Regions from separate parts of the Homo sapiens genome. Here region 2 is linked to region 1. The links are contacts of gene promoters, found by promoter capture Hi-C in human tissues and cell types (Jung and others, 2019). All regions are on one chromosome and are shown on one strand. The core of a region is centred on a gene start or on the middle of the fragment in contact, and the rest is flanking DNA. Distances in the headings are between cores, read along the strand shown.

The links. Contacts are between HindIII fragments. The study calls those that stand out against the background at their distance.
Region 2: a contact is called between a fragment that was not itself captured here and the fragment with the promoter of MIS18BP1 in region 1, in 1 of the 25 tissues and cell types used here (lymphoblastoid cells).

Annotation. Positions count from the first base shown.
Region 1 is chr14:45,251,329-45,256,192 of GRCh38, forward strand. MIS18BP1 (MIS18 binding protein 1) reads right to left here and starts at 1,874. Exons shown (of 17, transcript NM_018353.5): 1 at 1,707-1,874. LOC107984674 (a long non-coding RNA gene) reads left to right here and starts at 1,963. Exons shown (of 4, transcript XR_001750746.2): 1 at 1,963-2,313. RefSeq lists enhancers at 1,843-1,902, 2,003-2,182, 2,092-3,041, 2,203-2,392, 2,463-2,522. The HindIII fragment of the contact is 14,218 bases long and covers 1-4,864 here.
Region 2 is chr14:43,876,287-43,881,414 of GRCh38, forward strand. No RefSeq gene overlaps it. Among named protein-coding and RNA genes, the nearest start is that of LINC02307, 510 kb to the right of the region's middle. The HindIII fragment of the contact is 4,079 bases long and covers 1-3,437 here.

The DNA.
Region 1 (4,864 bases), core at 624-3,123:
TATTGGCACAATGACAAAAATTACCTGAGAATGTATTTCTCAGAACGTATCCCAGTCAGTTACAAGTGACATATATAAATACAGAACTGAAGCTAAACAATTATGTATATGATCCTGAATGTAACTACTCCTCCTCCTCCTCCCAAAAAACATGGAAAGTTCTTGTAAGAATTTACTGTAGTGGTAGTAGTAATAACTATTACTATGGAATGGGTCAAAAATCCCAGAGCACACTAACCAAAACTGGGACATAGAATTAGGGGGAAAATAGAATTTTAAGTTAACAGGCAAATGATACACTTGAAAAAAATACTCAGCACATATGACAAAGGGCTAATTTAAATAACATTCAAAGAGACCTAATAAATCAACTTTAAAAAATATACAAAACAGAAAATGGTCATGGGACATGAAAGGTGATTAATAGAATACAAAAGGCCAATAAACGAGTTGTGACACCTGATTTTACTAATAAATGGAGATGCAAACTAAAACAGTGAGATTTCTTTTTCATATCACATTGGTAAATATTAATTTCAAAATGCAAGTATGCATACTATTGACACGGAAATTCCACTTCTAACTTGTTTTTTCCTATAGAAACATCTGCGTAAGAATGCAAATATATATGTACCATAATTGCCGATATTTACTGAATATTTACATGCCAGCCACTATATAATCTAACAGCAACTCTAAAGAGTTAAGTACTGTTATTACTCCCAATTTGAAAAAAGAGAAATTAAGGTATAAGGTGGTTAAGTAAGCTGCCCAAGGTCACTTGACAATAAGTGAGAAAGAGGAACCGATTCTACCCGACTCCATAGCTTCAGTTATTTACCAACAGGCAACAGTCTACACACCCACTACACAGGGAAGTTCACTGCAGCATAAAATGAAATGAAACAACCCAGATGTCTACCAATAAAGGACAAAATAAATCCCGCCACATCCATACAATTTACTCTATGTATTCAATAAAAAGATATATATGTACTTATATGGAAAAGTATCCAAGAAACATTAAATTGAAAAAGAAAGTAACAACATAGAATTGCATTTGTTTAAAAAAATTTTTAAGTAAATAAATAAAACACATACAGGCATAGAGAAAAACTCTGGAAGCGGTGAACCAAATTGTAAACAGTGTTTATCTTTGAAGGCCAGGATGAAGTGGCCTACCATTTTCTTGAACTCCTGAGCTCAAAAGATCCACCCGCCTCGGCCTCCCAAAGTGTGGGATCACAGGCGTGTGCCACCGCGCCCGACCATTTTCTAAATAATTTTATTAACATCTAAAGATGTTTGCAACAAGCATGCAATTTAACCAGAAGAAAACATAAGCTGAATGATCAACTGCTTCTATAGCCCTGTGGGTCCTGGGGTCCCAAGGGGAAGAGTTGGGTACTGAGGAATACAATTTTCCCACTTGGTATTCTAAAAAAAAAAAAAAAAAATTTATTTTAGAACAAAGACCTAGAACGCTCACCATCGAAATAAATTTGAGCAATCGTGTTCTACTCTCTTAAGTACAGTAGACACGCAACAAGTAAACATCGAGTGCGAAGTATAAAATCCGTACCAAAGCCAGAAATCTACAAAAAAAATAAATAAAACCGCGTGAGCCGAGATGCTTAAAGGGCAGACGCCCACCATCTGCGGGGACCCGCGGTAGGAGGTTAGCGGAGGGCGCGGGGAGGACGTACCTTGGATGAAGAGCCTGGCAGGGAGAGACTGCCGCAGTTCCGGCTCGGCTCCGCGCGGAGAGAGGGCCGCACGCCGCCGGGCTCGCGCCTCAGGCCCACGGTGTATCCTGCCCGCGGCGGCCAGGCGCCAAGCGACGCTTACCTCCTCCGCGACGTTCTCTAACACACAAAACACTTCCGCAATTCAAATTTGAAGAGCCCGCCCTCCAGCCAGCCCGGGATTGGCACGCTCGGGAATTGCGCCACCGTGCGTCTCACAGGGACGCAAGAAAACTGCAGGCGGCCTCTGCACTCCGTGGACGGCAGTGTGTCCACAAAAAGTAGGCGACCCTAAGCTGTCACAGGCAGGGGGCGAGCTCCTCTAGTTGTCTTCAAAGTTCGTTTCGTCTTCGTAGGGCACGCGCCCACCCTGAATCCCGCCTTTCCTCTCGTGAAGCTCTGCCGGGACAAGGCTGACGTGGGACGACGTGGGACGCCGTGGGCCGCGAGCACGCCCCGGCACTACTGCGGCTAAGTTTGGCCTTTCCTGGTTGCCGTCCTCCCCTACAGGCTGTGCGCCGTAGCGGCTGTTATCCTTCTTTTCCGTCTCAGGAAAACAGCGTGCTTGGTGGGTTTGAGAGAACTTCTGTTTTTCTGTCCTCCATGTTTGAGGCGGAGAAAGAACATTTTGTTCTTGAGGTGATGATGGATTGAATGTAAAGTTACGCACAAAGTGGGATGTTTAGTTGGAACTGTTCCCTCAGGAAATACGATTTTTTGGGCGTGGGGGACAGGGTTTCGCTCTGTCGCCTAGGCCTGAGTGCAGTGGCGCAATAACGGCTCACTGCAGTCTGGAACTCCAAGGGATCTTCCCACCTCAGCCTCCGAGTAGCTGGAACTACAGGCGCGCGCGACCATGCTTGGCTTATTTTTATTTTGTAGAGAGGAGGTCTCACCATGTTGCCCAGCCTAGTCTGGAACTCCTGGGTTCAAGCGATCCTCCATCTCGGCCTCCCAAAGTGCCAGGATTACAGGCAACCGCACCGAGCCAGGAAGTGATTAATTTTTTTTTAAGTCACTTCACATTCCAGAAACATTAATCTCGACAACTCTAGGTTGCTGTAAGCAGCTTGTGACGGTGGCCCCCAGACTGCGTCCCGCTTTAGACTGCACCCAGTGAATCTCCACTCTAACCACCGCGGAGTGACCGGGTGTATTCTTCGCCTTGTATAGGGCACATTGGTTCAGTCTTGAAAGTAGAGAAGGGGAAGCCAGGGTAGTAAGGTGTGTTCTCAGCCCTGAACCCTGTCCAACTCCAGTCCTGCATGAAGTCTGTCCTCTTCCCCCCATCCGCATTTGTGACAACAGAGCTTCTTTTTATTTTATACTTCCATCTAAGAAAATTAGTCAACTTCTAGTCACATACCACATTTCCCCATTAAGAGGCTTTACTGAAAAGGTGGTAATTTTTTTTTAAAGTGACTTTTGCAGTCCCTTCTAAATCCTGCATGTACTAAATTTTGTACACACTGAATAATCAAAATCCAAAATATAAATTTAAAACATCCACGTGAATGCAAATAAGGAAAAACAGTTGGAGGTAGGGGGAAAGGAAGCAAACTTACCTGGATAAAATGAAGTTTCTTTCTTGTACACCATAATGAGAAAATGGTTGGACATGGATTTGCACTACTTTTTTGGGAAAAACCCACCTTAAAACAGGTTAAATGGCATGTATGAAATATACTTTGATAGAGGAAGTTTGAAGGGATGGTCATTCAGATTTTAAAGCACCTGAAATTGAGGTATAGGACGTTTCTGTGCCTGATGAAGATGGCCGTGGCTCACACATTTAGACAAAATAGGAACCCTGAAGTATTAACAGCAGGCACTCAGAAATGCACACTTTTTTTAAATTAGCCACTTCTCATGTAAGAAGGAAGTAGTATGTAGTATGTCCCAATGTGAATGGCCACAGGAATTTACATAAGATGACTAGTAATTTTCCAAGCAAAATTGGATTAAACAGTTTGTGGATAAGAAAGTGTGATGAGAAAGCCTAGAGGCCAAGGGACAGTACCTCTGTCCCTTAAATGGCAACATGCTGTAACCGCCCAAGGGGTTCACCTTGCGTGCTGCCTAGACAGAGCTGATTGATCAATACAAGTAAATTGCAATGGAGAAAGAGTAATTGACGCAGAGCCGGCTGTGCGGGAGACTAGTGTTTTATTATAACTCAAATCAGTCTTCCCTGAGCTTTTGGGGATCAGAGTTTTTGAGAATAATTTGGTGCGGGGAACCCAGTGAACTAGAGTGCTGATTGGTCAGGGATGAAATCATAGGGAGTAGAAGCTGTCTTCTTGCGCTGAGTGTTTCTGGTTTGGGGAGTCACAAAATCAGATGAGCCAGTTTATTGATCTGGGTGGTGCCAGCTGATCCCCTAAGTGCTGGGTCTGAAAAATAAGCACTGATCTTGGGAGCAGTTTAAGGAGGGGCAGAATCTTGTAGCCTCCAGCTGCATGACTCCTAAACCATAATTTCTAATATTGTGGCTAATGTTCTACAAAGGCAATCCAGTCTCTAGGCAAGAAGGAGGTCTGCTTTAGGTAAGGGCTATTACCGTCGTTGTTCGAACTATAAACTACAAACTAAGTTTCTCCGAAAGTTAGTTCAACCTACACTCAGGAATGAACAAGGACAGCTTGGAGGTTAGAAGCAAGATGGAGTCAGTTAATTTATATTTCTTTCACTGTCCCAGTCATAATTTTGCAAAGGCAGTTTCAGTGCTGACCAGGGTTGGCCCTCCTTTAAGTTTTTGTCCGCTCGGAGGGGAGACCATAATGAGAAAATGGTTGGACATGGATTTGCAGTTCACAGCCACCTGGGATAATCTGTCCCATCCTAGGCCTATACCTCATGGGAACACATGCGGACCCATGTAGGGTCCAAAAAAACGGACATGAAAGGAAGAGACAGAAAGCTTCACACTGTGTGCGAGTTGCTACCAAGGCATCTGGGCATGCTTAGCCTGGAGGAATATTCCCAGGACCGTGAAAAGTTGTAGCAGTACTTTTGGAGAAAGTAGAAAAACGATGTTTCCTCAAGGCCAAGGGTTCTCAAGCAGGAAAAGTTTTGCCCCCCTTGGGACAATTGGCAATGTCTGGAGACATTTATAAATG
Region 2 (5,128 bases), core at 148-2,647, 1.4 Mb before region 1:
GCCCTCACCAGGAATGGAATTGTTCAGTACTTTGGTCGTGGATGTTTAGCTTCCATATCTGTGAGAAGGCAAATATCTGTTGTTTAAGCCACTCAGTCTGTGGTATTTTGTTATGACAGTTTGAGCAGACTAATAAATCCCCTTCTTTATCTATTATTCTCTTTCTTATAAGCTTCTCTTGCTAGAATACCCTTAATGCATCACTTACATAAGAATACCCATCTTAGGTTCTGGGTCTAGAAGTACTGAATTTAAAGAGTGATTTATTGGAATATTAGATTAAAGAAAAAAGTGTGGGGATATCTCCAGAATTGGGGCTGTGATACTGAAAGCAGATAATAGAGAAAACATGGGATTTGATTCTTTCTGTCACTAACTAAGGGTGGTAATTTATTTGTCAGATCATCTACTTTAATGAGACTGAATTTCTCCATTTTTAAATTGGATTACTATGACTTTAAACCAGTACACGTTCTGCTTCCTCCACAAAATTATACACATCTTAAGTTTATACATGGCATTCAACCTATTTTTTTGTTGAAATTCTTCTTCTTTTGAAGGTTGTGACTGATCAGTTGTGTTTTTCACTTATTAATCTCATAAAAAACAGTACTTAGAGCCCAAAGGAATATCTCATACCTTATGTATGGCTCAATGTCCCTTTTACAAATGGAGTAAAAAAAACCTAGAATATTTATTACATTACCTATATAGATATATCTCTGTAGCTATTCTAATTCTTTCAATTAACGACAGTCATTTGGAGAAAAAGTAGCTGTCTTAATCAACTATGACATGCAAGATATACAGTAGTCCTCCCTTACCTGAAGCTTTTTTTCTGCCATTTTAGTTACCTATGGTAGAGTAAAATAAAATATTAGAGAGAGACCACATTCACATAACTTCTATTTCACTACGTTGTTATAATTATTCTATTTTGTTATTATTGTCATTAGTCTCTTACTGTGACTAATTTATAAATTAAGCTTTATAATAGGTATGTATGTATGTATAAGGAAAAAAACATAGTATACACTATATAGGGTTTGGTACAATCTGTAGTTTTAGGCATCCACCAGAGGTCTTAAAACATATCCTTTACAGATAAAGGGGAATTACTGTAGTTGTTAAACAAAACAAAACAAACAAAAAACCTTGACCATAGTTAAAGTTACACAGTTAATTATTGATTCAATTCAAACATTTAACATGTTAGCTTTTCTCTTCTAATTATGGCAGGTTCTGTGTCTGCGAAGAGCTTAGAATACACAGCCATGGCAATCAAAGTAATCTGATCTTGGCAATGCTTAGAAGAGTCTGGAAATAAGCTTACAAAGATGTGAAAAAGTCATTTTGGCATAATACAGGCAGGAAGCACTGTGATGGATAACGAAAATGAGAGTAGACTGATGTGAAACCTTTTATTGAGAATTGACGTGTGCTGGCTGTATTCATGAGCAGAACATGAGTTGCTTGAAAGTCTTCAGAATTTGGCAAGCTTATGCAGAGGGGTAAACATGAAATTTTAATTAGGAGGACACTACAGCTTGGAATGTGAAAATGCTAATGATGAGATTGTTCAGTAATAGTTATGAAACTATTCCAAAATGCAGACATTTGTTTGAGAGTTACATTATAATTCATAAAATGTGCAGGCAAAATAAGAAATGAAGGAATCCTGCAAGACTTTCTTTTTATTTTTTGGCACACTCTGGGCATTGTAATCTTAACTTGGTGAGAGGTTTATAGATATTCAGTTCCAACTTCTGTTGTTTTGGATGGAGAAAAATACAGCAAGGGATTTATTATGATAAAGCCATAATTTGATTTAAATAAATCAAGTTTCTACAATGAGAATATATAATTAACATATTTATATATGTAAAACACTAATGGGTTCATGTCTGATTCCAATTCTAAGTAAGGGATTTGTAATAATCCTGAGCTACAGAGGTGGTGCAGGTAAGGTGGAGATTAGCTACTGCAAATTCAACCTGAATTATCTCTTGATTTTCCCAGGACCTTTTAGGGCTGAGATGGCTGGCTGGGCTAGTGCTTGTTGTAGTACATTAACTGACCTTTATTAGGAAGACTATCTTTGATTAGGCACTTGCTCAAAGTGCACTGTGGAGTTACATTTCTTTTCTTGTTGATGACAGCCAAGAAATGACTACTTCAAATTGCAGCTTTAATCTGAGAGCATTGTTTCTGCTCATTTTTCACTAAAAATCTCCCATTTTCTTCTTATATGGCTCGCTTTGCACCCCTTCAGTGTCAAAGAGAGAGTGCTGAAAGCTCTTGTGATGAGAACTTCTTACTTGAGCATCTGATTGGCGAGTGAACCCACATTTGGCCATTACTTAAAATATTATTTTTAATATCATTAAATATTCTCCTACAAGGGTTGCTATGGAGTGGTTCAGAAATTTAACTAGTTGATTCATGACCAAGATTGTGAGGGTTACATATACAAGCATATTTATCATGGTAAGAACCAGCAAAAAGACCACGAATGGAGCCAAAGTATTTTTCATTAATCAGTATTTGTAAAATGCAGTAGTCATTTTGTGATATACACAATGTAAGACAAAATTTTGCATGTCACTTTCTAGAAGGTCAATACATTGTTGGCAGTTGAAGTTGTAACAAAAAAATAGACATTTAGTAAAGCATGAATTTTGATGCCTTTCTGAAAGGAAATTAACAAGTTATATTCTTATATTTATGTGTGTAGACTAGCTACGTCTTTAAGGAAAACCTCTTCCCCTTGTATGCACTTGTACCTTGTTATAAGAAGTTTTAGAGTTATTTGTAACGCCTTTACAAATTAAGCAAGTGGCTCTTCTCAAATGCCCTTTCGCAAAAGAAAAAAATGAATGAATAGAAGCTAAGTTTCTTTCAAGTGCATGATAAAGATAACTGTTATTTGTTTAACAAGAATTTTTTTAAATGAATATTTTGTAAAGAAAAATCACCAGTGAATTTTTGAATAGTAAAGTATGAGGTCCCCTTGAACCTTTTCCCTGCCAAAATTTTGAAAAATCTACATCTTGTAGAAATAAAGAGAATACATTAAAATTTACATCTATAACTATATTGGCTTAGAAATTGACAATAACTTCAAACAATCACTTGGTTCAAACAGTGTTGCTGAGGATAATATGGCTTTTGGGATCTTCAGTCATTTTAGGCTTATTCTTTAAATTTTTTTTTTAATTATGTTAACTATAGAAAATAATTGATGACAAGAGGACACTCATAATCAGAAAAACGTAATAGAACACTGGACAGAGAATCACAAAGCAGGAGTTCTTCCCTAAATTAGCCACTTATTTGGATGACATTAACCTCATTAAACATGTTTCCTCATCTATAAAAGGAATATATAAAAACTCCCATCTTATGACATGTTGAAAATCCGGTTATTAAATCTGCAAATGTCTAGTGAAAATAAATTGCTGTACAAATGCATAAATGTTACTATCACCCTCGTTGTCATTTTCAATTGATGACTTTCTGAGCAAAACACTAAAATAACCAGTTGATTAAGCAAAGATGAGTTTGTTACTTCCTGCAATAATGGAAACATCATATTGACAGTCTTAGTAGTTAATGTCTCTGAAAGAAATGCTAAAGGTAGATCATTGTAAGAATTAGACTTTGACTTAGGGTGGGTTTTTCAATGCAGGAATTCAAAATTCATGATATAATAACTGAGAATTAGTGGAAAAAGTGTGAGAGTTTTCAAGGAATCTTGATGAGAAGTCATTTGATAAGAGAATAGTTTGCCTGATTGTGTGATTCATTGTGCCAAGAAGGCAAGCCAAGAGAGCAATCTATTCATTGAAGTACATTTTCAGGCAGTTTCTGAAACAAACAATTATGTTATTGCAATATTATCTTCCTGGACAAGAATTTTCTGGAAAAGTGAAATAATGCTAGTTTAGATGGTCTTAGTTTATTATGCTATTAACTATATATTTGTAGGCAGTTTGTCATCATCATCATCATCATGTTAAGTATATGTTATCATGTGTGAGCTGTGTTGTGGCATTCTCCTACTTGGTGCTGTATATAACAAATTTTATTTAATTTTAGCAATTAGCCTATGATGTGATTATCACTCTTTTAAAGATACAGGTGAGCTTATGACCCTTGTTTGATGTCACAGATCTTGCTTCTCAAAACAAGAGAACCACACACCAATAAAATTGAAAAGAAAATAAACACTTGATAAGGCCCTAACTTTTAAAACATACATAATCTTTTCCGTAAGTTCATTTGGGATGAAGTTTTACATATTTCTTCTTTTCAGCCTCAGAATGCTAGAGGTACAGACTAGATTGCTACTGCTAGCAACTTCAGGGAGGACATTAATGCAATTGCAAAATAGTTTAAATGGTTTTACTCTTAAGATCTTAGAAGATAAAGATACAATTCTAAAATTGATTTGTAATTTCTATTATTATTACTATCATGAAAAATACAGATAAGTTAAAAGCTGCAAAGAAATATAAATTAGTTGTTCTATCACCCATAAATCAATATATTCAATTATTTCAAGGAAGCAGGATATATAACTACAAGAAGACTTTGTTCATATTGGGAATGTAAAAGTCTTCATCAGGGGGCTGGCCAGGGTGGCTCACACCTGTAATCCTAGCACTTTGGGAAGCTGAGGTGGGCGGATCACAAGGTCAAGAGATAGGGACCATCCTGGCCAACATGGTGAAACCCGGTCTCTACGAAAAATACAAAAATTAGCTGGGCGTGGTGGCATGCACCTGTAGTCCCAGCTACTCGGGAGGCTGAGGCAGGAGAAGTGCTTGAACCCGAGAGGCAGAAGTTGCAGTGAGCCGAGATCATGCCACTGCACTCCAGCCTGAGTGCCAGATCGAGACTCTCCATCTCAAAAAAAAAAAAAAAAATTCTTCATCAGACTTGGAAATAGGACTAAAATCTCAGACTTGGTCAAGCTCTGAATCGACACATATCCCAGTGACTGCCTCACTCTCTAACCCAAATATCCTTTACGTCTCAGATTTCAAGGGTTAAAGTTATCACTACAAAGGGAAAAATACATGAGTAGTATAAAGATCAAGAACAAATGTTCACATTTTTAAAAGAT